Linked DNA regions of Homo sapiens: all the other regions are linked to region 4. Evidence: promoter capture Hi-C in 16 types of primary human blood cells and fetal thymus (Javierre and others, 2016). All regions are on one chromosome and are shown on one strand. The core of a region is centred on a gene start or on the middle of the fragment in contact, and the rest is flanking DNA. Distances in the headings are between cores, read along the strand shown. Region 1 overlaps TTLL7 (tubulin tyrosine ligase like 7). Region 2 overlaps LOC102724892 (a long non-coding RNA gene). Region 3 has its middle 67 kb from the start of SSX2IP. Region 4 holds the start of DNASE2B (deoxyribonuclease 2 beta). Region 5 overlaps TTLL7 (tubulin tyrosine ligase like 7). Region 6 has its middle 51 kb from the start of TTLL7. Region 7 overlaps TTLL7 (tubulin tyrosine ligase like 7).

What was found. Contacts are between HindIII fragments. The CHiCAGO score rates a contact against its expected background, and 5 or more counts as called.
Region 1: a fragment that was not itself captured here is called in contact with the fragment with the promoter of DNASE2B in region 4 in 2 of 17 cell types (endothelial precursors and fetal thymus); the score reaches 5.6 in endothelial precursors.
Region 2: a contact is called between a fragment that was not itself captured here and the fragment with the promoter of DNASE2B in region 4, in 1 of 17 cell types (monocytes). The highest score is 5.0, in monocytes.
Region 3: a contact is called between a fragment that was not itself captured here and the fragment with the promoter of DNASE2B in region 4, in 1 of 17 cell types (M0 macrophages). The highest score is 5.2, in M0 macrophages.
Region 5: a contact is called between a fragment that was not itself captured here and the fragment with the promoter of DNASE2B in region 4, in 1 of 17 cell types (naive B cells). The highest score is 5.3, in naive B cells.
Region 6: a fragment that was not itself captured here is called in contact with the fragment with the promoter of DNASE2B in region 4 in 1 of 17 cell types (naive B cells); the score reaches 5.1 in naive B cells.
Region 7: a fragment that was not itself captured here is called in contact with the fragment with the promoter of DNASE2B in region 4 in 6 of 17 cell types (erythroblasts, total B cells, total CD8 T cells and 3 more); the score reaches 7.1 in erythroblasts.

The regions. Positions count from the first base shown.
Region 1 is chr1:83,894,582-83,898,351 of GRCh38, reverse strand. All of the region lies in intron 18 of TTLL7 (tubulin tyrosine ligase like 7), which reads left to right. Among named protein-coding and RNA genes, the nearest start is that of LINC01725, 35 kb to the right of the region's middle. The HindIII fragment of the contact is 1,368 bases long and covers 1,518-2,885 here.
Region 2 is chr1:84,787,624-84,791,409 of GRCh38, reverse strand. All of the region lies in intron 2 of LOC102724892 (a long non-coding RNA gene), which reads left to right. Among named protein-coding and RNA genes, the nearest start is that of SSX2IP, 99 kb to the right of the region's middle. The HindIII fragment of the contact is 7,389 bases long and covers 1-3,786 here.
Region 3 is chr1:84,755,950-84,759,600 of GRCh38, reverse strand. No RefSeq gene overlaps it. Among named protein-coding and RNA genes, the nearest start is that of SSX2IP, 67 kb to the right of the region's middle. RefSeq lists an enhancer at 2,393-2,964. The HindIII fragment of the contact is 4,011 bases long and covers 1-3,651 here.
Region 4 is chr1:84,396,650-84,400,502 of GRCh38, reverse strand. DNASE2B (deoxyribonuclease 2 beta) reads right to left here and starts at 2,019. Exons shown (of 6, transcript NM_021233.3): 1 at 1,814-2,019. The coding sequence starts at 1,938. The HindIII fragment of the contact is 1,924 bases long and covers 1,232-3,155 here.
Region 5 is chr1:83,914,162-83,918,050 of GRCh38, reverse strand. It overlaps TTLL7 (tubulin tyrosine ligase like 7), which reads left to right. Exons shown (of 21, transcript NM_024686.6): 14 at 361-447. Among named protein-coding and RNA genes, the nearest start is that of LINC01725, 55 kb to the right of the region's middle. The HindIII fragment of the contact is 4,769 bases long and covers 1-3,889 here.
Region 6 is chr1:84,047,816-84,052,079 of GRCh38, reverse strand. No RefSeq gene overlaps it. Among named protein-coding and RNA genes, the nearest start is that of TTLL7, 51 kb to the right of the region's middle. The HindIII fragment of the contact is 483 bases long and covers 1,762-2,244 here.
Region 7 is chr1:83,951,627-83,955,506 of GRCh38, reverse strand. It overlaps TTLL7 (tubulin tyrosine ligase like 7), which reads left to right. Exons shown (of 21, transcript NM_024686.6): 2 at 3,120-3,320; 3 at 3,531-3,662. The coding sequence starts at 3,296. Among named protein-coding and RNA genes, the nearest start is that of TTLL7-IT1, 31 kb to the left of the region's middle. The HindIII fragment of the contact is 1,438 bases long and covers 1,322-2,759 here.

The DNA of each region.
Region 1 (3,770 bases), core at 952-3,451, 500 kb after region 4:
ACTCTAGCCTTAGAAGGGTTGCAGGCTGAAATTTTTTCTTTTGTACTAAGGTTCCCCATGTCAGACTGTTTCTCTGATGTATTTTATTTTACTAAGAATTCTTCATATGGGGTATTCTTTTGTATAGAATATATAAAAATGATGTATAAAAATTGTCTGTTGGCCTATAACATATTGATCATTTATTTGGCTATCAGTTAGAAACTTGTGCTATTGTCTTATAAAGCTAGAAACTGCATCCAAGAAACTAAAAGAAACCTGGAAATGTAGGTCACCTGTGGAGTGCAGAATTAGATATTACAAAAATGTATCTGTTTAGAAAGCTAAGGACTTAACTAATTTACATTAGATGCATGTTAATCAGATCCATCCTTCTTTTGGCTGTGATGTCAGTCAATAATCATTGAAAGCTTTACCAGCTTAATCTTCTGGGAGGCAGACACTAAGGTGGAATTAACAGTGAAAGTTTTTTTTTTTTTTTTTTTTAATGGAAAACACCCAAGGAAGATAATGGGGAGAGAGAGCGCAAGTAGGCAGGAAGAGCCTTAGGGCTACAATGCAGGTCTGACTCCAGTGAATGCAAGGGAGGAGGACTGGGTAGGAAGAACCTCAGACTTTAGTGGATCTCTGAGAAAGTTGTGGTCAGGCTGATGGGGAGCCCAGAACAAAGACTGGCTGTTGAAGGGATCACAGTGAGCAGAAATAGCTCTTCACTCGTATCCCAGCCATGCTTCATCCTTGGCTGGGAACTATCTTGGGAGAGTGTAAGCATGGTTTGAATATTGCAGTGGATCCCCAGTGGGGAAGCCATCAGCTAACTGCATTCTTTGAAACATGTTAATTTAAGTGGCACATCTCCATGGCTGCCACAAAGGCTGTGCGTGATACATTTTAATTTAACAAACATTTATTGATTGCCAATTTTATACAAATAATATGCTAGACACTGTTAGGGATTTTGAGAGTTGTTTACTCATTCATTTATTTGCTCACTTAATCATGCATTCAACAGATATTTATTGAGGGACTACCATGCCCCAGGCACTATTCAAGGTATGGAAGCACAAGACTCTTATTTAAGTATCTTAATTCCATTTAGAGACCATTATGGAAATATATATACCACTTTTCCTGTTCCAGGATTGAGGCATTTGTGGTTATTAGCCTGTTGTAAAGCTCCAAGATTAGAATGACATACACACAGAGTCTTTCACATGCTTTCCTTTTTTCTGTTCTTGGAAATTAAAAAAAAATTATTTGCCTTCAAATTTTCCTTAATGGATGTAAAATGTAAAGATCAAGGGTATGGGAATTAAATCCTGAAAAGAACCCTCACCAGGTGAAAATGGAAATAGTTAATCTTATTTAATGTCATGTTGTGGTAACTCCATACTTGCATAATTTAGCTTTCTGCCAAGAATGCAGTTGCTTTATATAGTTTGTGAGGAATATATATGAAGTATGAAAATATAGTCATGTTGGTGGGCTGCAAAGAATGCCAGATTTGCTGAAAAGCTTATTATCTGATGTGATACCTAAACATAAACTAAGAGTGGAGGATGAAGAGAAATAACTAATGACATTAAGGTTGTACTGTATTTGCATTTATTTTAGGGTGCTAAGAGGTCCTTGTTTATCAAGTATTACTTCTCTAAATAGCAATTTATTTTTAATACCTACTGTGGCTGCTTCTGCATGCATTTTGATGATACTATTTTCCGTCTCTGTTTTATTCAGGCTGACATAGATGCTGTTCAGAGCTGTTCGTTTTGCATCAGCAAAGATGCCTTTACCCTATAGCCATCGCTGCTGCATGCATCATTAGTACAGCATGTAGTGATTTTAATGTTATTTCTAAACCGCCTTCACCTCGTGCCATTATTTTAATTTAGGACCAACTGTTCGGCCATATGGAGCAGTTTGTCATTCAACATCTGTATGCTTTTGCAAAATATGAATTTGTCTGTGTGCTTTATGCCTTCAAATGTGCTATATTTCACATGGAAAAGACAAATCTTTTCATTTTATTAATGTTGTCATTGACTGAATCTCCCATTTGTTTTTTCCCTTGGAGAGCTTAATGTTGGATTGGGATGCTTTTAAAAGTCATAATGTAAGGAAATGGATACCTATATTCTATAAATTAGCCTCACGTAAGCCCACAGATAACACAAGGGCACCTTGCTGATCATTTATTTTTGTGTTTCACGAATTATTCATCTTCCATCCAATTTCTTCAATCCCCAAAGGACCAGAAATCCAAAAAAGCATCACAGGTAGAACTAGCACTAATTTATCTCATTCCAGTCTGATTTCTTGCCTGCCTGGTCTGTGCTTTCTTAAAATTATTAAGTGAGTATTTGGCTAAAAGTACAGTCATTGTCTCCCCATCTGTATAGCCTTCTAAACAAACTATTCCTTACTCCGTGGCCATAAAGGAGGGGGTGCCTAGGCAACCTTGTTTTTACACAGTGATCCCACTCTCCTCCCAAATACCATTTGACTAGAAATGAATCTGAATCTAAGAAGAGATAATGGGGTTCTCTCTAGGCTTTTGCTGCTGGCATCTGGAAAATCTAAATTGTGAGGCAGTGCTGGATGTAGTTAAGAGCGTAGGTCTGGATACAATGAGCTGGGTAATCTTGGGCAAGTTACTTATCTGCTTTGTGCCTGAGTTTTCTCATCCATAAAATGGGGATCCAAAATGTTTTCACGACCAAAAAAATTTTCATAACCCCTAGGCAGCAAAACCTAACCTACCTGAATTCATTTGGTGACAATGACCTGACAAGAAGTTATGTATTGATTTTGTCTATCTCTTGGTTTGAATATTTACATTTTTTTCCTGCAGAATTAATAATATGTATGATTATGGAATCTAAGCTTGAGATTTTTGGAAAGGGACTGTGGACCAATAGTATCTACCTCATGTTTTTGTTTTGAGGACTAAATGAGTTAATATATGTAAAAGTGCTTAGAACAGTGCTTGGCACATGGTAAGTTCTCTCAATGATTTTTTACCTTGTCTACATAGGTGTGACTTTCTTGCAAGGAATGACTTACTAAGACAGGAACCTACTAAATGATAGACCTTGTCTTAAGCCTTGGGGACCTGGTAACTTTATTATCAAGATGGGCACAGTTTACTCCCTTTATATGCATAACAGTCTCCATTAATTAAACAGGAAATTAAAATAAAATAAGGTGCTTGCTAATAAAGGAAGAACTGGGCATTAAGATATCAAACAATAGTTCAGTGGCAGGTAAAGTTTTCCTTAGAAGTGGCATTTGAAGTGAAACATAGAAGTTTATCAGATGAAGAGATAGGAGAAGACTGTTTCAGGCAGAGGAAGGAGCTTATGTGAAGACTCAGAGGAGAGTTGAAGGATTTGGGTTCCTGTTCCCTCAGTCTGTTGTTCCATGCCCTCCAAATTATAGGGGTGGGTCTCCGAGGACCAAAGCTTGCCTTCTTGCGGAGGCTCCTTGAAAACTGAAAGCAAAGAGAAGCAAAGAGGAATGCGTGTTCCCAGTGGTTTGCTCTGGACAGGAAGGAGAATGTGCCTAGTTTGCCCAGACCATGTCAGTCTCACCAATCTGGGAAATTGCTTCTTAGGTAGAGGTGCCTGATGGGGTGCCATGATGCCTGCAGATTTTTCCATCTCCATATTGAAGAAAACATTAGGAATGGAGCAGAAGCATTCCCCATCCCTAACTCCCCGGCTCCATTCTGAAGGTGCTGCTTTTAGTCATGTATGGGCTAGAATATGGTA
Region 2 (3,786 bases), core at 913-3,412, 390 kb before region 4:
ATCTTTTAAAAATTATATTACTACAATTTTTACGGCTGCTTTATGGAAGTGCAATTGATTTTTGTATACCCAGCTACCTTGCAAAACTTAAACTCTTTTTAACTCTAATAATTTAACTATAGATTTTTAAAAATATACTTCATAGGCAATCATATTATCTGCTAATAATTATTATTTTATTCTTTCTTTCCAATTTGCGTACCTTTTTATTTTCCTTTTTAAAATTTTACTGATGAGAATCAGTAGAATAATGTTGAATAGAATGATAATATTGAGCATCTTCAACTTGTTCCTGATTTTAAAGGAAATAGTTGTAAGTTTTATTATTAAGAATATTATCTGCCATAAATTTTTGTTTTTGACCTTTATCCTGTTAAACGAGTTACCTTCTTAATTATAATTTTCAGTGTTTCTACCACAAATTAGGTTGCTTTTTCTCAAATGCTTTTTGCCGTATATTAAAGTTATAAAATTGTCAGCTGGGTGCGGTGGTTCACGCCTGTAATCCCAGCATTTTGGGAGGCTGAGGCTGGCAGATCACCTGAGGTCAGGAATTTGAGACCAGCCTGGCCAACATGGTGAAACCCTGTCTCTACTAAAAATACAAAAATTAGCTTGTTGTGATGGTGCGCCTCTGTAATCCCAGCTACTCAGGAGGCTGAGGCAGGAGAATCGCTTGAGCCCAGGACGCAGAGGTTGCAGTGAGCAGAGATCATCCGACTGCACTCCAGCCTGGGTAACAGAGTGAGAGTCTATCTCAAAAAAAAAGGAAAAGGAAAAGAAATGATAAAATTGTCTTCTTTCTCTAATCTGTTAATATAAGGAATTGCGTTAATTAATTTTATAATGTTAACCCAGCTTTGCATTCCTGGGATAAACCCAACTTAGTGTGATGGACTTTTTTTCATACCCTGCTGGATTTGGTCGATAATAGTTTGCTTAGAATTTTGGCGAATTTGCATGTGAATAAGATTGGCCAATAATTTTCCTTTCTAGTACTATTTAATTTGATTTTAGGATCAATGTTATACTGATCTCAGGATGAAAAGGAAGAATTTAAGAATGGTGAAAAAGGATGTTAAATTAAGTTTCAATTGAAGCACCAAGATTCAAAAAATATAAACTTTCAAAGTGAAATGTTAGACCAAGATTGCCTTTCCAAAGGAAATATCCAGGAATCATTCCTTCACACTAACAACTCCTTGCCCTCTCAAGCAAATAAATGACTAGAAAGGGGAGTTTAATGGAGATTTGAAGAGGATTTCTTTGGAAAACATTGCTAGTATGAACTGAGCCAACTGAGAAGGGATTCAAGTTTTCCCTGTGGAAAGCTCCATATGCGTCCTCTCCACCTAGGCAGGTCAGCAGACTTGTGTCCAGCTCCCATCTAGAACACAGAAGGCAAGAAAAGGATAGGCTAAGTGGTTTGGTGGTGGATTGAATGAAAGATGCTGCTGGGCTTGAATCAGCTCGTAATCCCCCAGTTTGCCTGGACAAAGCAGTACGATGGTTTCCTTGGCTAGGTATACACAAAAGAGCTGGGAATTGGGTCATCATAGATGAACTCAGAGTCAGGTCAATTGGAGAGGTGAACAGGTTTCATTACAGCATGAGCTAGAGGTGGATACTGCTTTCCTTGGCAGTAAGGGGTAGTAAGTGAGCAACTTCCAGAACACTGTGCATTCATTCAGATCAAAGGAAATCAGCAGTGATAGGGTAAGAAAATAGGTTCTCCAAAGTACACATGAAAGCATTCCATAAGAGAAAGAATCAGCTTCAAATACCTTGCTGATACCAGTTAAGTAAGGACTTTCTGCCTGTCTTCCTTCCCCATCTCCCAGACCTGAAGAGGATCAGAAACAGCAGTAAATGGATGGGGGATGTATGAGTTATTAATTGTCTTTCAGCTCATTCCACCCTTTTATTCCCTGCTTTTTGGTGCTTGGACAGGAACCCTGGAAATCATTTTTCTGCTTTGCCAGCTATTCCCTGTTGGGCTCTGCCAATTGGGGTGCTAGAGGGAAACTCAAAGGCTGGAGGAGCAGAAGGAATGTGCTCCTCCCAGTTGCTTGCTTTGGACTTCCTTTCTGCTCACAGTTCTTGTGAGTATCACTCCAGCACTGCACCTTCACTGCATTGGTGGTAGTTCCTTCCATAGCAGCAGCTGATCCAGTTCGCTATTTCTACCAAACTTGCAGGACCAGACTTGTCACATTCACCCCTTTAACCTGAGACATGACTATGTGCTGACCAGTGCCCCCTGTTCAGAGTCCGGGCCCCAGCCTCCCCCGGCTGCTCTTCTGAGCTGAGACACCACCATCAGTCAATCATCTCCCCCTCCTCAGGGTCAGGGTTTCAGCTCACCAGGATCCTTTGTCTCAGCTTTTAGATTTCAAGAATTCCAATCTCTTCCTTTTATTTCTTCAGCCCTGGGAATGATAGCCATTTCCTCAAATGATTGCTTATGACGCCTTAGCATTCTCTTCTCTCTTCTGTTACCTGGTTAGTAGCTTTATATCTAGTTAATAATTCTTTATATTAAATTATTTCTCAAATAACTGGTGTGTTTTCTGTCCCCTGACTAGTATAGGGGAGGGTGATTGACAAGGTGAGACAGAAAAAAGGAAGAGATTGGATTTTATGTCTTTCCCCCAAACAGGTGGCCTCCCTGCCATAGCCCTTAGCTGGGGGAAAAGAAGGTAGAGTGAAGAGAAGTCTTAACTTTTAAATTGAAAGCCTGGGTTTTCAGGAGTTGAACAATGAGAACACATGGACACAGGAAGGGGAACATCACACACTGGGGCCTGTTGGGGATGGGGGATTAGGGGAGGGATAGCATTAGGAGAAATACCTAATGTAGACAACAGGTTGATGGGTGCAGCAAACCACCATGGCACATGTATACCTATGTAACAAACCTATACATTCTGCACATGTATCCCAGAACTGAAAGCATAATTAAAAAAAAAAAAAGCCTGGCTTTTTATGTCAAGTTACTAATTTGAGTCTGGGTTTGTGTCTGAAAGTGAATAAAGGTATTTCTATTACTCAAGAACAACTATAAAAGTGAATATTTTATAGTTATTTTATATAGGGCTTGCCTGAGTTTTCATCCAATGGCAGGGGAAGGATTGCCTTCACTGAGAAGATTTAAAGGGGCCATAGGAGACAAAACTAATAACTTTCTGGATTATATCCCATGAATCCTGCTTCTTTAACATACTGGTAAATCTTCAGCTGTAATTGAAACGCCTTGTAAAACTCACAAATAAAACTCTCTAAGCCTAGGATTTATTTTGTGGGAAGATTTTTACTGCTGGTTATACAGGCTTTCTATTTCTTTTTTGGTCAGTTTTGGCAAATTATATTTTTCTAGGAATTTGTCCATTTAATGAACATTTCCAGACTTATTGGATAAGGTTTTTCATTTTATATTTTTATTATCTTTTTGACCGTTTGTATTCTACTTTCTCTGCTAATATTATTTGTGCCTTATCTCTTTATATATTTTTTTAGTTTCCTTATACAGTCTTTCCAGAAGTTAGTCTCTTCAAAGTGTTAATTTTTGGCTTCGTTGATTGTACTTATTGTATCTATTATCTAATTTAAGGTTGTCATTTCCTTCTTTTTATTTTCTTTGGGAATTTTGTTTTCTTTCTACCTTCTTATGTTTGATGCTTAGCTTATTAATTTTATGTTTAAAGTGGCATTTTTTCCCAAATAAACATTCAAACCTATAAATTCGTATTCATACATACTTAAGAGAACCCATTGCCGTCCTCTCCC
Region 3 (3,651 bases), core at 562-3,061, 360 kb before region 4:
CACTTTGAGCCACAAGGACTGCCGGCAAGCTCTGCCCAGATTGCTGGGGAAGGAGAGGTGGGTGTGTATTATTTATGTTCCCCTTTCAAAACAAACCCATCAAAAGAACAAAGCCTCCCTTCTGCTGGCATCGGCGGCAGCTCTGACATATGGCGCTCCCCAGTTCTTGCTGCCGAGGAGTGGGCGTCGGGGCTGCGTGAAGGTACTGCCTGCAGCCATCTGCTGGGTGCCAGTTCTTTCCACTCCGAGCTGCATTCTAATTGTGAAACAGGGCCACGGGAAGGAGGTGGGGAGGATGCTGGGATACAAGACACAGTTCTGTGACAGAGGAAATGTGCCCGTCCAGATTGCCATTTCTTATGCACGTGGTCCAAGTCCATTCCCCGGGAGGAGCATGTGATCCTGTGTGTGAGAAAAAAAGAAGGTGAAGGGCAGCAGTATGGAGCGAAGGGGGGACCAGGGAACAGGGGGGCGGAGACACTAAAGGGAAGCAGCTATTTATAGGTCCTGACCACAGTTTATCTCCAAATGATATTTTGATATTTCTAGCCTATCCCGCAGATGCCTTTGAAAATAGTCACAAAGAAAGCACCCACAGTGGGTGATAACTGTGTCTTCAGGAGCTATTTGGGTCACAGAATGAATGTTTAGTAAAATGTGATAGGACCATAATCCTTTTTTACTCGGGGATTTCTAAATGGAAGACAGGGAGAATCCATGCATGGCTCGTAGCATTAGTTTGGCTTTTTTGTGTGCAGTAAACTTTGCTCTGTGTCCCTGTAATCTGACAAATAGGGTAGGAGGCAGTGGCAGAAGTCACACAGCACTAAGCTGGGGTGTGTGTGTGTGTGTGTGTGTGTGTGTGTAATGCCTTGAAGCAATTAAACATACAATGTGTGATTTTTCATGTCACATGCTGCATGCTGTTATCCACAGATGACTTGCCCGTGTCTAGGCACTCTGCCACAGGAAAGATGCAAACACACATAGATACACATTTATAAAACCAACTGGAAACACGTATTTGTCCTTGGAGAGAATGAAATCCTCCAAAGACTGTTGTTCTGACTTGAGCCATGGAATTTATGACATTAAGCTACCATTCACTGGGTTATGCCAGGGTTTTCTTCTGCTTTATTTTTCTTTCTAAGACCCAGGAATCACACTGACATTACTGAAACCATCACTTCACACCTGGGAGAGTCACAAGACCAGACATTTTCTTCCTGCCCCCGGCATGCCTGGAGACCAAAGCCTTTCAAGGGTTGCTAATCTCTCAGCAAAGGCAGAATAGGTGGAGATGGCATTTCTCTAAGCTAAGAGTTTTTTACTCCCAGACTTAGAGGGAAAAACATAGGAGAAAAAATTTGAGAAAACTATGAACACTTTTGTTTCCTAAGGGCATTTCTCTTTTAGGGTAAAAATAATATAATGGTCCCTGGCCTGTGCATCTACCATCAAGAGACGATGACCTCACCTCTACCATCTTCCCTGGTGGAACCCCTAAGAATGGCCCAGAGCTCACTGGGCCTTGTTTGTGGCATTGACATAAGGGGAGGTCTGGGTGGCTTTGAAATACGCCCTGTTTCTGCTATTTACTCAGTGAAGCGCATGGAGTTGTCTTTCTCCCTAGCCAGTGAATAAAATCTGAAAGTATAAAATTTAATTTGTAAGACTGAGAAGTACGAAATCTGATATTTGTATATCCCAGCAAGCGTTACCTAACACTAGATCAAGGCCGATTTCCAGAGACTGTCAGTATCTAAAAGGATGCTCTACCCTGGCCAGAGTAAAGCAGTTTTAATATCGAGTCATTTTCATTGAGCCTTCATGAGAAAATGAGGTGTGCTTCAGCTCCCGGAGCCTCAGAGTTGGGAAAGAGCAACTCCTTAGAGTAGGGGTTGGCAAAGTTTTTCTGTAAAGGAGCAGATAGTTGGCATTTTAGGCTTTGTGGGTGGAGGCAAAATTGAACAACTATTCTCACTAAAAGGCTTTTTTTAATTTTACAATTTCAGTTTAAAATGTAAAGACTATTCTTAGCTCTCAGGCTGTACAAAATTTGCGGCAGTCTGGATTTGACCAGCAGGTGGACTTTCAAAGTCCCTCTGCAGCGTTCTCATAGGTGGCTGTCTGCACTTAGCTTACGTTCCTCTAAGCCACAGAAAGCTCACCACCTCCCAAGGTCAATAAATCCGCTTTAAAGGAGGCTAAAATGGCTAGAAAGCACTTTTTTATATTGAATTAGAATTTGCCTACTGTATCTTATAACTGAAGCATTACTTTAAGAACTGATTTAAATCATTTTAAGACTGATTTAAATTTCTAGAAATAGTTTTTGATGGAAATCATTCTCTATTCCCTATTCTACTGCCTAGTAGCCATGTTCTAAAGTTGCCTTCGTGTGTTCCAGTCATTATGAAAATAAATTATTGTACTGTGCTGTAATGCAAATTGAAACCCTCAAGACCATTGGGGTTTACAAAGCTATTTGCCTTTATACTAAATATCTCCACACTGCAATGCTCCATGAATTCTTGTTTCTTTTTTTCTTTCAGTTTTTCTACCTGATTACTTATTACAAGGATGCTATCCATGTCTCTCCTTCTTCTTGTCTGTGTGCCTACTGAAACAGTTCACCTCCTCCTCCTAATTAAATGTCTCTAATCTTCCATGGGCTAAAAGTAGCTCTCCATGAGAAAAGATCCCAGGAGCCCTGGGGCCTTTGGTATTTGACTTGAGAACTTTCATCAATAAAGTATTTAAACCACTTGGAGCCTCCTGCTCGCTCTCTTCTCTCTCTCCCCTTCTCTCTCTCTCCCCCCTCCCCCCCTCTCACCCTCTCTCTCACCCCCCCTCACCCCCTCAATACTAGATAGGCTTTTGAGTAAATGTGAAAGTTTTCTAAAAGTCATTATCACCATCTGTGAAATTTGCTGACTATAAATTCCTTGAGGACAAGTGACTTTCTTTCTGAATTTCACAGCCTTAGAGCCTAGTCCAATGCTTCACATACAGTAGAAGTTCAATAAATGGTTCTGAAGGACTGAAAGAATAAGAGGTTTGAGGGTCGTGCTAGGCTGATTTGTTCCAGCATATCTCAATTTTTAGTGGAGGTTTATTGTGTTTGTTTTATTAACACTAACGTTAGGGCTATTAAATAATATCACTTAGAAACCAAAAGAAATTAACCCTCAGGGGTACAATTTGATATAAATAGAGGTAGGCAATTTTCAGTATGCTCTCTATTTCTACAGACCCAACATGGGCTCTCGTGAAACCTGGATCTATGGGATTTATGTAAATGTGAACAGGCTGCACCAGGCTCACAGACTGGCTGTGTAGAAGTGGTCTCTGTTTGTCGTTCAGATGTTGGGAGGTAACAGTGAGCTTTAACTAATTACACCTCAAATCACCCCCAGGAGGTAGGTAATGATTATAGATGTACTTGGCTGAGGTAACTCAGAATGTCTTAATAATCACTTAATAGAATCTTATCATGAGAAGCAAATTGCATTAAATAGGCAAATGAAGTTGACGGTGAGAAGCAGAGTTAGGAAATAAAATGCTATGGGGGGTTTTATATGGGAAAAATCCAATTAACACCTTTTTAAAAGAGTTGGCCCCATGGCTTTTTTCATATCGCTCACAGTA
Region 4 (3,853 bases), core at 770-3,269:
AACCAAATTTATAATATTTTGCTCCAAATCTGCTCATCCCACACTATTAGGGAACATATTCATGCAGTCTCAGAAGCAGAAGCCTAAAATTATTTCTTTCTTTTTCTTTCTTGTTTTGTTTTTTGTTTTTTTTTGAGACGGAGTCTCATTCTTGTTATTCAGGCTGGAGTGCAATGGCACGATCTTGGTTCACCACAACCTCCGCCTCCTGGGTTCAAGCAATTCTCCTGCCTCAGCCTCCCATGTAGCTGGGATTACAGGCATGCGTCACCATGCCTGGCTAATTTTGTATTTTTAGTAAAGATGGGGTTTCTCCATGTTGGTCAGGCTGGTCTTGAACTCCTGACCTCAGGTGATCTGTCTGCCTAGGCCTCCTAAAGTGCTGGGCTTACAGGCGTGAGCCACCACGCCTGGCCAACCTAAAATTATTTCTTAACATCTCCCTTTCTCCTACTGGCTGCAGCCCATCCATCACCAAGTCTTCTCAGCATGTCCTTCTTTCTATTTCCATGACCGCTTCTTTAACTCAGGTCTACACCTCTTCTCACCTGTAATGCTGCAAAAGTGCTCCTGGTCTCAGTGATTCTAGGCTGCTCCCCATCCATCCAGCCCTCATAGTACTGCCAATGGGTTTCCTAAAGTGCAAATCTGACCATTCACACCCCTGCGTGAAGTCCTCCAATAGCTCCCTTTCAATGTCAAGTTCAAACCTTGTAGCTCAGCACACAGACCCCTTGGCTGTCCCCACCTCTCTAACCTCACCTCCGGTCATCTTCCTGTATTCTCCTGAAGTTCCAGCAATACCAAACTACTTTGCAACTCCCAAATTTCCATGTTGCTTCTTGCCTCTCTACCTCCTCATTGCTCCTTCATTGGCCTGAGATGCTCTTGCACATCCCTTCTTTTTCCAGCTACTTCTTAATTGTTCTTAAAACTTAGCTCAAAAATTACATCCTTAGAGAAGTTTTCTGGGCTCTCTGTTCCCCAGTGTTCCACCTATGCCCTTACCACATAACTGTGAGGTCCTTGAGGGTAGGAACCATGTTTCGTTCATATTTATATTTTCAAAACTCCACACAGACCTCTGTTGAGCTCAGTAACTGAGGAAAGACTGACTACTGCCTTGAGTATATCTGTGTTCTGTAGCCTGAAGTTTACACAAAAAGCTTGACACCAACCATTATGGCAAACCTAAATATCCCAATTAAAGGGTGAAAAAGTAGTTAAAGCTTTAGGAGAACCCATGACTATAATGCAACACAGCATTTAATGTCTTTGACACTGTACAACAGGCCAGTGGCCTACGTACCAATCATGGCAACAGCTGCCTCTGCTTCCAAACAAACCGATGTTAGGCAAACAGTGCTGTGTGTGACCAGGTCCCCCTTCTCTTTCTCATAAGGAGCAGCACATGCTCCATTTTCAGAAAAAAATAATCTGCCTTCTTTACTCTGTCAGTCTTTCAAAGGATGTTGGAAGTGTTCTGTTAGGAAAAGCCATGATGTAATTAAAAGAAATTGCCAGCTCACAGAAGCTGTCAGCTCAATCCCACTTCTGTGGCTACCAGCCTTGCCCCGCTGAGAACAGTGAATCAGGCCCAAGAGGGGCTGCTCAGCTCTTTTTCAGGGGGAAACTCCGTCACTCAGAAGCCTACCCCTGCCTGGGAGTTTGGCCGATTTGCACACTTTAACTTCCTTTATTTGTAAAGGGAGGAAAGAGAATGGACATTCCCCTTAGGAACTTCGCAGTGAGCCAGGCCAACTCTGTACCGAGGCTGTTTGCATGCAGCAGTCCTTCCATTTCATTTACCTACCAGTCCACAGCTTTCCCTTCTTCATTTCTGCATGAAATTGTTGCTGCCCCCAGCACCCCAAAGAGGCCAAGGAAGAGCAAAGCAAAGGATGTTCTTAGCAGTCTTGCCATCATTTTCTGTTTCATTTATTTCATGCCACAGCAGGACACTTTCCCCATAGATTGTGGAGTCTGAGTTTCAAGGCGCTCTCAGGCTGTGCTGGCTCTGACGTTTGATTTGATTTACCTGTGCTGTTCGCTGTTCGGGGCATTTTCAGAGTGGGATGGATCCCATGTAATTGTGCGATTCTGTCACAACATGCCAGCGTGACTCTGGATGCCTTTGTGCTGAATTGTTGACTGGTTTGCAAAGTCATCAAAAAGTTCTGCAGAAAAATAGGGAAAGATAGTTCACTCTTTGGAGTGAACATTGTTGTATGAAATTCATTGGGCAGGGGGACTTCATTTTAATAAGTAGATGTTAAATATATTTCATGTCTTCTCCTGTTTGACTCAATGAATGAGAGCAAATGCAGGTGGTTCGTACATTAAACAGAAATGATAAAACCTTATGTCTTAGTAATAATTAGGATCTGTCACTTAATAATCTCTGTCTTAAGGAACCAGTTGCTAAGGGATACTTCAAAGGGTTGCTTCAAAGTAACAGTAAATTTAACTGTATTTTACCAAAGATGTTTACATATTCTCTCCATCTTCCTGGTTTTAGCCACTCAATGTGGTGCTTCAGGCTGCTATGCAATAGGTAAACATATTGATCACCCACTCTTCAGGTTAATAAAAAATGTTACAAACATCTATTTTGCCCAAACTATGCTTTCTCATTCTCGAAGCTGAATCTGAAGTAGAAAACCAAAATAAAATGGCCCACTACCATAACAACTATAAAAAGGTGAGACCAATTTCTTTGTGAATCAGGGAAGGAGTAGATAGACATATGAAAATAATTTCTTTAATGCATACTTTTGCATCAATTATTAAAGCTGCCATCATAATAAATAGCAGTTTACATCATGCCTGGAAATAATGCTGCCCCTAATCTGTCTCTCTGATAATCACAATGATAACTATAATAGTTCCAGATCAGAGGATCCAGACCAAACTGAACCCTTGTAAATCAGATTACCTCTGTGGTTGCACTAGAACTGTTCACAATTCTCAGGATTCATAGAAAAGGGGAAGGCTTGTGTCTCTATCCTAAGACAGAGTTTTGGGAGGAGGACTCTGTACCACCTGCCCAATTACCTGTGGTGCCTGCAAAAAAGGCAGAATTCTAGGACTTATTCCAAACCTGCTACATCAGAATTCTTCCAGTTGGGCTCAAGAATCTATATTTTTAATAAGCTTATTGGTGATGCTGGTGTACCCTAAAGTTTGAAACTCACTGCCCTGAGGCCAAGACTATGCTGTATTTGGTAGATTCACAGCTTTCTGCAGGTTAAATGAAGAAATATTTTTCTTACCCATTCCTCCATTGGTATTATTATTATTATTATTTTGAGATGAAGTTTTGCTCTTGTTGCCCAGGCTGGAGTGTACCCACCTCGGCCTGGGAATCCATCCACCTCGGCCTCCCAAAGTGCTGGGATTACAGGCATGAACCACTGTGCCTGTTCTCATTTTGTTTTATATATTTTCTTCCTGTGTTCAGAAAAAAGGATTTCAACAACCCCAACCTTTTTGTCAATTTTTAAAAGTTTTTTTAAAAATTATCAGCTGGACGCAGTGGCTTATGCCTGTAATCCCAAAACTTTGGGAGGCTAAGGCAGGAGGATTGCTTGAGCCTGGGAGTTCAAGACCAGCCGGGGCAACATAGCAAGAATGTATCTCTACAAACAATAAAAAAAAAATTAGTCGGGCATAGTGGCACATGCCTGTAGTCCCAGCTGTTCAGGAGGCTGAGGTGGGAGGATTGCTTGAGCCCAGGAAGTGGAGGCTGCAGTGAGCCATGATGGTACCACTGCACTTTTGCCTGGGTGACAGAGTGAGATTGTCTCAAATATATATATATATGTATGTATGTATGTATGTATGTATACTGAGA
Region 5 (3,889 bases), core at 445-2,944, 480 kb after region 4:
TCATAAACTTGAAATCTGGAAAACAGCATGAACTTTCCAGAAATTTTAGTGTCCAATGGGCTAATTTATTGAAGTATTATACTCTAAGATTTTAATACTATACTGTACTATAAAGATACATTTGTTTAGGATAATTAATACAGAATAGATTTTGGCTATGTATTAATTATAATGCCAGATTTTAGTGAAAGTTTCAAGAGAATTTGCTGTGACCCTTTAATATTTCTCCTTTTTTCTGAGCAATCTTCACTAAATAATTTCAGGAATCCTTGCTCTGCATTATTTTGTGGAGATTAATCAACTTGGAAAAATTCTAGAGTCCATTAGTGGTTGTAATTTTAATTAGAATATTTTTTGAAGGAAGAAGATATTTTGGATCTTCTGGAGCAATGTGAAATTGATGATGAAAAGTTGATGGGAAAAACTACCAAGACTCGAGGACCAAAGGTGCAGTATATCTCTACCTTCCTTACTTATCAAAGTAGATGCTACTAGCCCTTGATACTTCTCACTATAAGAAAGACTGGTGCTGCTTTAAAAAAGGAACCACAGGGACTGTGTGCCCAGTGCAGGTAAAGTTTGGAAGATGATGATACCTTACACTCAGGAGTTTGTTTTGTTTTATTAGTTTCATTCGTCATTTTGGTTATTTTCCTGATGACAGTGAAAAGACCATGAGTCAGGGCCAAAAGGGACCCAAGAGCTAGTACTCTTATTCTAAACTAAGTATTAAGTTTGCCTCATACCTCTAGACAGATAATTATCAAATAAATGGGTAACATTATAAATAAGGCAAATCATGAACTCTAGAGACCCTAATTAGAAGCCCTGTCTTTTGCTGACCTAACAACATTGATTTTGTTTTAGTTAAAATAGGTGTAATTCCTAGAAATAAGTAGAAAGCTGTCATGTAGATGACATCTACATGTTCTCCTTTTTTTTTTTTTTTTTGATAACAGGGTCTCACTCTCATCCAGGTTAAAGTCCAGTGGTATGTTCATACCTCACTGTAGCCTCACACTCCTGGGCTCAAGTGATCCTCCTGCCTCAGCCTCCTGAGTAGCTGGGATTACAGGCACATGCCACCATGCCTGGCTAATTAAAAAAAAATTCTTCTTTTTTTTAAAGAGATGGTGTCTCACTGTGTTGCCAAGGCTGGTCTTGAACCCCTGGTTTCAGGCGATCCTCCTGCCTTGGCCTACCAAAGTGCTGGGATTATAGGCATGAGCCACTGCATCCAGTGCTGTTCTTCTGATATATGTCAAAGTTCTTGCTAGTAGAGTAGGAAAGAGTTAAATTAGAAAAATCTTGGATTTTTTTTTCATTCTATTCCATTTATATTTCAGAATTACTATGCTATCTCTTTGTCCTTAGCCACTTTGTCTTCTATCATATTTTCTTTTTTTTAAAATTATACTTTAAGTTTTAGGGTACATGTGCACAACGTGCAGGTTTGTTACATATGTATACATGTGCCATGTTGGTGTGCTGCACCCATTAACTCGTCATTTACTATTAGGTATTTCTCCTAATGCTATCCCTCCCCCCTCCCCCACTCCACAACAGGCACCAGTGTGTGATGTTCCCCTTCCTGTGTCCATGTGTTCTCATTGTTCAATTCCCACCTATGAGTGAGAACATGCGGTGTTTGGTTTTTTGTCCTTGCAATAGTTTGCTGAGGATGATGGTTTCCAGCTTCATCCATGTCCCTACAAAGGACATGAACTCATCCTTTTTTATGGCTGCATAGTATTCCATGGTGTATATGTGCCACATTTTCTTAATCCAGTCTATCATTGTTGAACATTTGGGTTGGTTCCAAGTCTTTGCTATTGTGAATAGTGCTGCAATAAACATATGTGTGCATGTGTCTTTATAGCAGCATGATTTATAATCCTTTGGGGATATACCCAGTAATGGGATGGCTGGGTCAAATGGTATTTCTAGTTCTAGATCCCTGAGGAATCGCCACACTGACTTCCACAATGGTTGAACTAGTTTACAGTCCCACCAACAGTGTAAAAGTGTTCCTATTTCTCCACATCCTCTCCAGCACCTGTTATTTCCTGACTTTTTACTGATGGCCATTCTAACTGGTGTGAGATGGTATCTCATTGTGGTTTTGATTTGCATTTCTCTGATGGTCAGTGATGATGAGCATTTTTTCATGTGTCTTTTGACTGCATAAATGTCTTCTTTTGAGAAGTGTCTGTTCATATCCTTTGCCCACTTGTTGATGGAGTTGTTTTTTTTTCTTGTAAATTTGTTTGAGTTCATTGTAGATTCTGGATATTAGCCCTTTGTCAGATGAGTAGATTGCAAAAATTTTCTCCCATTCTGTAGGTTGCCTGTTCACTCTGATAGTAGTTTCTTTTGCTGTGCAGAAGCTCTTTAGTTTAATTAGATCCCATTTGTCAATTTTGGCTTTTGTTGCCATTGCTTTTGGTGTTTTAGACATGAAGTCCTTGCCCATGCCTATGTCCTGAATGGTATTGCCTAGGTTTTCTTCTAGGGTTTTTATGGTTTTAGGTCTAACATTTAAATCTTTAATCCATCTTGAATTAATTTTAGTATAAGGTGTAAGGAAGGGGTCCAGTTTCAGCTTTCTACATATGGCTAGCTAGTTTTCCCAGCACCATTTATTAAATAGGGAATCCTTTCCCCATTTCTTGTTTTTGTCAGGTTTGTCAAAGATCAGATAGTTGTAGACCTGCGGCATTATTTCTGAGGGCTCTGTTCTGTTCCATTGGTCTATATCTCTGTTTTGGTACCAGTACCATGCTGTTTTGGTTACTGTAGCCTTGTAGTATAGTTTGAAGTCAGGTAGTGTGATGCCTCCAGCTTTGTTCTATCGTATTTTCATGCTTTTCCATGCTTCTGAAATGTCTTCCTACTAAAAAAAAAAGTCATTGACTTGTTGTTTGAGGCTCCTTCCTATTTCAGCTGAACCGCTGTTGCTTGTGTGAAACCTTCCCTCATTTCCCCAGTTAGGCTTAGACCTTCCCTTCTTTCTTTCTCCTGCTGTTCCATAAATAACACTTTTATAGAGCAGTTGTGACAAGTAATTATTTGCATGTTTGCCTCAGTATGAGGTTGCAAGTTCCTGAGGGTAGCAAGTAGATTTTCATCTTTGTATTCTTAGAACCTAGCCAGTGTGTGACACACAGTAGGTTCTCAAAATCCATTAGTTCAATTTGTTAAATATATGCATAAGAACCTCATTGGCTAGTAGAAGAGCAGACAGGTAAATAAAAAACCAGGGAGTAATGTGGCAAGTACTATAATAAAGGGAGTGTAAAGTGCTACAGCCCCATAGAGAAGAAAGGGATTGGTAGCATGTGGATGGCTTCAGAAAGGTAGTGCTATTAGAACTGGATCTTGAAAAATGAGTAGTGCTCTAAGCATTAAGAGAGGTGGAAGAGGCAGAGCACGGTGGCTCACGCCTCTAATCCCAGCACTTTGGGAGGCCAAGGCAGGCGGATCACGAGGTCAAGAGATTGAGACAATCCTGGCCAACATGGTGAAACCCCGTCTCTACTAAAAATACAAAAATTAGCTGGGTGTGGTGGCATGCGCCTGTAGTCCCAGCTACTCGGGAGGCTGAAGCAGGAGAATTGCTTGAACGTGGGAGGCAGAGGTTGCAATGAGCCAAGATCGCGCCACTGCACTCTGGCTTGGCGACAGAGCAAGACTCTGTCTCACAAAAAAAAAAAAAAAAAAAAAAAAAGAGAGAGAGAGGTGGAAGAACATTTAGGGTAGACGGAACATTAAAGGCAAAGATATGGAGTTATGATACTGTATAGGATGTTGTAGAAACATGAAAAGTTTGGTATGACTCAAGTGGAAGGTTCTTGGATAGTGAAATGATACAGGTGAGCCTGGTTAAGAG
Region 6 (4,264 bases), core at 754-3,253, 350 kb after region 4:
GAACTGCATTTTGACAGAATAGAAAAATTAACATAGTTTGGGGTTGCTATGGTTTGAATATTTGTATTTCCTTAAAAATTCATGTGGATATTTAATCCCCAGTATAACAGTATTAAGAGATAGGGCCTTCAGGAGGAGATCTAGTGCCTTATAACAGGGCTGGAGGGAACTAGCTAGGCCCTTTTTTGCCCTTCCCCCTTTCATCATGTGAGGACACAGCAACAAGGTGCCATTTAAAAGCAGAGAGTGGTTTTTACCAGCCACAGAGCCTGTCAGTACCTTGACCTTGGACTTCCCACGCTCCAGAATTATGAAAAATAAATTTATATTATTTAAAAATTACCCAGTCTGTGGTATTTTATTATAGCATCAGACACAGACAAAGACATGGGCCAAGATAGTGAGTGCATAATGCTGTCCTTACCATGTAAATGCTGTTTTTGTTCCTCATCACTTTTATGGATAGAAAAGTTCCCATTCACCAGTTCAGTAGCTACAGAGGCTGTGTTGATTACAGTACAGCATCTGGGATTAGGGCTACCATCTAGTTAAATTTATAGTAGTCCACAGCATATGTTAAAATCCATCTCATTTTTACAGAGGTGAAATAGGCATACTGAACCGGGGGTATGATGAAAAGTACCACCTCTGTGCCCTGTATCCTTTAAATCTCTGATGGTGGTATTATTCTCTGCAATTCCTCCTGGGATATAGATGCTCTGATTTAATATCTTGCATGCTATATGCAAGGGAAGACATTTTTAAGGGCTTCTGCCTAGTCTTTCCCATTACAACAGCTTTTACTCCACAAATCAGAGAACCCATGTGAGGCTTCTGCCTCCTATTGAGTATATCTATCCCTAGTATATATGTGAGGAATAGAGAACTAACCACAGGGAAAGTCATTGACCCATTGAACACAATGTAGGCCAGACTTGGACCAGAACTCCATTTATTACCTAGTTTTTATAAGCCCACCATTCTAAAGAGGACTATAATGTAATTTTTGGTTCCCTTAACTAGAAATCAACTCACATCCCATGTCTAAGAGTTCTAAAAAAATCTGGGTATTACCTCTTTTCCTATCGCACAGTTGCCTTGATAAATGGCCAGACTCTATGAGGAACAATCAAAGGAATGTTTATCATATATACTTGTGGTTTTGTTGCAGGATATTTCCTTAAGGGGGCTTCGCTTCTCTTCAATCAATGGACTCAGTGTGTGAACTGACATAAATATAAAATAGCTGAAGGACTACTATTTTGCATTGCAGCAGCTATGTTGGATATAGTCCAAGTCAAGTAACAACTTTAGTTGGCTATCGATCTGCCTGACTTCTTGGGACACAGTAATCTACTAGCCATTGGAAATGGTCCCCATGAGTTAGAGCACCCCTACTGTTATTCTGGCCTTTCTATCCATTGTTTACATCCACGTTGTCTCTGATGTATAAGTGCCACCACCTGGCCTCTGGCATTCAGAAACTCTTCTACCAACAAGTAGTAAAATTAGTTCCATGGCAGCATCTCCTACCGTCAACTGTAAACTATTGAGTTCCCTCACTCATGGATTCCTCATTGCCTTAATAAAGAAAATGTCCTCTGGCCCTCCCAGGAAATAGAATCAGGTGATGGATTCTCCAGTCTCACATTAAAAATCTAGCAAAATTTCAACATGCAGAGGCTTCTGACTCTTTAATACTATTCCAAAGCATTTCTAATATTCCCATCTCATTTATGTAGGCATCATCATGTCTAAGCTTCAAGATGTTATCTTAAAACCATAGTAGGACTGGCTTTGACAGTCCTTGCTGGAATATTAAATCATAAGGCATGGGAAGATGTTCCGACATCAATAAAATTTCCCCTATTGGTCCCCTTCCCACTAACACCACCAGTCTACTCCCACAAGTGTTCCCTAGTTCCTACAAGCACTTCATAGTCAGCTCCTAAAATTCCTTTTAAGTAGAAGGTGCATTTGACTCATTATTTGCAGTAGTTATGTTCTATAAAGTCATTAAATTAATAAATACTGGACCATTGCTCCTAGGGTAAATAACAGTGTTAGGTTTCTGTGAGCCTCTGGTCACAACATCTTTCTCAACTGATCAACATATAACAATGTTTTATGTATATTTTTGTTTAAAGACACCTTATTTAATATACATTGTGGATGCATTAACATTGAACTCACAGCCAATAGTACTATTCATATGGCTGTACATTCATATGGCTGAATGAAGCTTACCTAACACATATGATGCTTCTCTCCATAAGGCACATCACATCCTTCTTGTGCTTAGGAGCATTAGATAACATTTCATAAGTTTGTCTGGGGGCCATTTTAAAAAGCAAAATTTTGGACACTTATTTTTCAAAAACCAAAATCGCTGACAAAAGGCAGAAAAATGAGAAAAATATGGCATTAAATGGACCAGAAAAAACACATGTTTACAGTATGAGGGCTGAAACAAGTAAGCAGAATGTAGTCTTGTTCAGCCTCAGCTGGGAATGTGCATGATGGTGACTTGAGTTTTTTGCAGCTCTATGTATAACCTTGAATGACCACAAAAGTGCTGTGAATATTGATTTTGGGGCTACCAATAAATTCTAGTGAGTAGGTGGATTTGCAAATACAGAGTCCACAAATAATGAAGAGCAGTTGTATTTCCCCCTAAAGAAGGTACTACATTTCCCCATTCAAGGTAATTGGGGTGAAAAAGGTAGATCTTAAAGACAACAAACATTATCTTTGAAGCGTGTGCCTCATGTCAGTCTCTTGTAAAGATTTTTAGCTAAAGGGAGGCTACTCTCTTCTCATAAGAGGCAGGGATCTGGTCTGCTGTTTAGGGTATTCTAGTGATATTAGTTTCAGTCTTTCCTACAGGTCTAAGGATTCCTTCCTTTTTCTACTAGGGCCTTCTGTGACACTGGAGACCTAGAACGGTTTGGCAATTCTGTCTTTGTCATAACATGGGGAACTCTTATAAAAAGATTCTGAGTCTAATTTTCATACAACCTACAGGAGATAAGAATCGTTTAATAACATTATTGCTGAGTCACAAAAATGTGGAGTTAATAGTTAAAAGACTTGAGCTTGTCTTTTTCCACTTTAAGACTAAGAGTATGCAAAAACCTGCATCCTTATAAAAAAACTCTACAATCCTTATAATTACTCTTGTTCCCATACCTTTCAAATGCCACAGCTATCATATAGTTCAGTGATTTACCTGTCACCTTTACCCCACCCCAATCCTAATGCATAGATAAGAGAGAATAGCCAGGGAAATTCTAAAACAGAAAAAAGTAATGAAAGAGCACTAGTTTTATCTGATATTAAACTATATTTTAAAACCAAAACTATTATAACAGAGTGAAATAACAAGAATTAAATAGGAAATCAATGGAATTGAGTAAAAAAGTATATAGGGAAATGTAGTATATGTTTAAATGTTGCTTTTCAGAGTCATTAAATTTTGGACATACAGTTACATGCTGCATCATGATATTTTGGTCAATGATGGGCTGTGTACACACAATGGTGGTCCCATAAGATTATAGTGGAGCTGAAAAATTCCTATCACCTAGTGACGTCTTGATGATCCTGACCCTGTGTAGGCCTAGGCTAATGTGTGTGTTGTGTATCAATTATTAACAAAAATGTTTAAAAAGTAAAAAAAAATAACATTTAAAATACGAAAAGCTTATAGAATAAGAAATAAAGAATATATTTTGTACAGCTGTACAATGTGTCTGTGTTTTAAGCTACGCTACTATAGAAGTCAAAAAGTTAAAAAAATTTAAAAGTTTATAAAGTAAAAAGTTTATAATGTAAAAAAGTTACAGTAAGCTAAAATGTTAATTTATTATTGAAGAAAGAAAAACATTTTCAATAAATTTAGTGTAGCCTGTGTACAGAGTTTATAAAATCTACCGTAGTGTGCAATGTCTAGGCCTTCACATTCATTTACTGCTTACCCACTGACTTACTCAGAGCAAATTCCAGTCCTGTAAGCTCTATTCATAAGTACCTTATATGAGTGTACCATTTTTTTATCTTTTATGCTGTATATATTTTGACTGTACCTTTTCTACATTTACATATGTTTAAATACACAAATACTAACTAATATATTATAACTGTGTGCAGTATTCAGTACAGTAACTTGCTGTATGGGTTTGGAGCCTAGGAGCAATAGGGTATACCATACAGCCTACGTGTGCAGCAGGCTATACCACCTAGGTTTGTGTAAGTATATTCTATG
Region 7 (3,880 bases), core at 791-3,290, 450 kb after region 4:
GTTCTCATGGTGGAAGGGATGGAAAGGTTGTGTGAAGCCTTGATTATAAAGTCCTTCCCATTCATGAGGAAGGAGCCCTCAGGACCCAATCACCTTCTAAAGGTCCTACCTCATCATACTGTTTCATTGGGGACTATGTTTCAACATGAATTTTGGAGGGACACAAATATTCAAACCATAGCACACATTAACAAGTGCTTATTGAACACTATGGTCAGGCACTATTCTAGGACCTGGGAATGGAGGAGTGAACAAGATAGAAGAAAACCATCTTTTTGGCAGGTGATTATGATAAGGGTAAAAATAAGGCCTGTGATAGCCCAAAAGAGGGAGAAATGAATTTCTTCAGATATAATCAGAGAAAGCTTTCAGGAAAAAGTGGTATTTTATGTGGAATTTAAGTGTGGTAGAAGCTCAACGGAAGAATAGGGAAGAAATGGTACTCTAGCACAAATGTACTGGAATTATTTTGGTTTTGTTTCAATTTCGTGTATCTATTGGTGCTTGACAGTTCTATGTTCAAGGTTAACATTTGCTTGAAATTTTGGAAAATTGATTCCTTTTGTAAATAAATTCTGTTTCTTTATCTTAAAAATCATTTTGTGCTCACCGTCAAATTTTTTTCTGGTTTTTTTTTTTTTTGAACTAGATAGGAAAACAGGATTTTTGTGGGTAATTTTTACCTATTTGGTCTTTTTAAAAAAGTTATGAGTTTTCTTTTACTTTTTTTCTTATAATTTCATGTGTTGTTATAATTAGCTATTATTTGTTGCATTGTCATCGTGTGCTTACAGTAGAGGTTCTCAACCTTAGCTGCACTGGAATCACATGAAGAGCTTTAGAAATGCTGATGGTTGGGCCCCACTTAGTTCTGGGGTGTGGCCTGGACAGCAGGATTTTCAAAAGCTCCTCATTCAGGCAATTCTGCTTTGCAGCCAAGGTTGAGAAGCCATTGGCTTAAAGCATTTCAGAGGTAACTGAAACATGTTTTCTGCTTTTGGAAAGTAGGTAACTATGGTTTCAAATGAGTGGTGGGATAAATCCGTCATCTCAAATCTCTTGCTTAGAATAAAGCTGATTAGAATTGCCATGGTTGAATGAAGTCCTTGAGTTTGTTAAAGCACTTTGACTAAGGCATAAATGGAATTAAGTAAAGCGCATATATGCATAGTATAATTTTAAGAACTTTAAATTCCTGTATGCCTTGGGGAAGGGATAAAAGTTCTTGTTTTGAACTCTGTACAAATCAGCCATTTGACTTATTATTTAAGTCAAAAACTAACAAATTTGTTTTTAGAATCTAGTATAGTTAGGTGAAGCTTGTTTTTAAAGTCTTGTTGACTTTGTCACCTACTTTCAATGTAATAAGTATTCTGTTACTGTAAAGGGGATCTTTGTTTACTCCAGTAACAAGATGTTGGACAAAAAACTTGTAAACTCAAATAGTTACTTCCCTGAGGTTTCAGAGAGCCTCCAGAAAGAAACTGAACTAAACTTTACACTACTCCTTTCTTTTATTCTGAGAAGTGATCCAGTCTGTTTCCAGCTTGGCATTGGGAGCTGAGATCAGTTTAGAGATGTTTTACTGTGAATTCACTGTTTGAAGTATTGCAAATTCCCAGAATATGGCCATATCTTGCGGCATGTACTGCAGTAGGGTTGGAAACTTCTCATATGTCTATATATTATGTTAGCATGGGGTCTGAAAATAGGGGAGCTTAATGAATAGAATAATTAGAATTGGGTTTAAAGTCTAAGTTTTCTATTTCTAAGCCATGTTACCTTGATTTGTTTAACTTATCTAGCCTTAGTTTCTTTTTCTGGAAAATAGGGAGAAATGATACCTAAATTTAAAGTTTGTTAATGAAATAAAATATTTAAAATGCTTAATAAAATGCCTACCTACAGTTGGTCTGTAATAAATAAAAGTTCCCCGTTTTGATATTGAATTATACTAGACAATCATTTTAGTAAAAATGATACCTGAGAACAAATAAAACCCTAAATTTTCTTTAATATTGAAACATTAATAATAATGAATATTTGGAGTGATATAGGACTCACGTTTTATGTAGCTGAATGTTGGATGTTTCTGAATTTCTGATAAACTTGACAATCTAATAAAGGTGTTGATATTATACCTTTGCTTATCATAATAGGTTTTATTTTTCATTGTGTTTATAGATATTTTACAAGAACTGAAGGATTCTTACAATAAGGAGAAATTAGAAAGTTGATAGTACAGACTGAACAATATGGTATTGTTAGGGCATAAATGCCTACGTTCATATATTTACAATGAAAATACAAGCAAAGTGTACTATAGGCCATGTTGAGATGTAGCCAGATCAAATTAATTCATTGATTGTTGCATTCCTCTGTGTGCCTGAATAAAATCATCATAATAATGACCCCACCCATTTTCTGTCCTTCAAAACTGTTCTCATTTTTTAAGGCACAATTCAAGATGTGGTTTACTTTATTAAGTTGTCCCCCATAATCCTTTATATAGGAATCACTTCTCTGCATTCTGTCAACATGTGACCTCTACCCTGCCTGGCACTTTTCACTGTCTCATATTAAAAGCAGTGTTTCAGGCATTGGGTTGAAGGTTGTGTGGGTTTCTAAATAAGACACTCTGGCATTGACATTAGAAGAATCTTCATTTTAATCTCTGTGTTGTAATTTTCTTTGTAAAGATACACAAAATAATTTGTCCTTTCTAAGCTCAACTTATCTGTAAGATGGGGATAAAAGCTTCTACCTTACAGGTTTGTTGAAAGATTAAATGGTATAATATAAATGCCTAAGATAATAAGTGTTCAATAAATAGTAGTGAATATTGTTATTGCTGTTATTGTTTGTGTATAGTATATTATTTATTGAATATACATGTGACACGTGACTTAATAAAACTTCTTCCCCTAGACTATGCATTCTTTCAGGATAGGAAAGCATCACTTGGCATTTTGCGTAAGGTTTAATAAACCGATTTACAATTATTTGTTGATTGAACACATTAACTTTCACCTTGACTTTTAAAAAGAATAGTCTTGGCATATATGAAAAAAAATTCAAAAAAGTTTTTTCTAAATGACCTTGTTTTAAAATCACTGCAGGTACCTTGTTATCCCATAACTTTGGTATCCTGAAATCTGAGGATTCCACCAAGATAATATGATAAGAACTTTCAGTGATTTGGGGCCATATCCTACTTAGACTAATGTGGAATTTCCAGATTTCCTGAGAGCTTGGTACAGCAGCACACACTGCTTGCTAATCAGCACAGGCAATAATGCCATCTCTGCCTCAAGAAGGAGGTAGGGAAATTGACTTAACTATGTTACAAAATATGGAGGTGTTATACATCATTACTGTTAATATTTTTAAAGTATTAAAAATTAATTGGGGACTTTTTAAAGTACCAGGATTTGTAATTTTACCTTGGTGTGGGGTGGGGGTGGTATTTGTGTTGTCTGGTATAGATTTTTGTTTTCAGTGTTATCTGATTATTTTACATTTTTTTAAAGTTATTCAGGGACCCTCTCCCCTGGATTTGAATACAGAATTACCTTATCAAAGCACAATGAAAAGGAAAGTCAGAAAGAAGAAAAAGAAGGGAACCATTACAGCAAATGTTGCCGGGACAAAGTTTGAAATTGGTAGGTTTCCTTAGAAGCAATCATGGGATTCTCATAATTGCTGGAAAAACTGATTTGGTGTTAAAAACAATGTAGAAATCCAAAGAGATAACTTATCTTTTATATAATGGATTTTTAAATGCCTTCTATAAAATTTCTAACATATTAGAAGGATTCTTTTTCTGTGTGGTAGAAGATGATATCCTTAAAAAGATCCCAACTGATTTCTAAAATTTCAG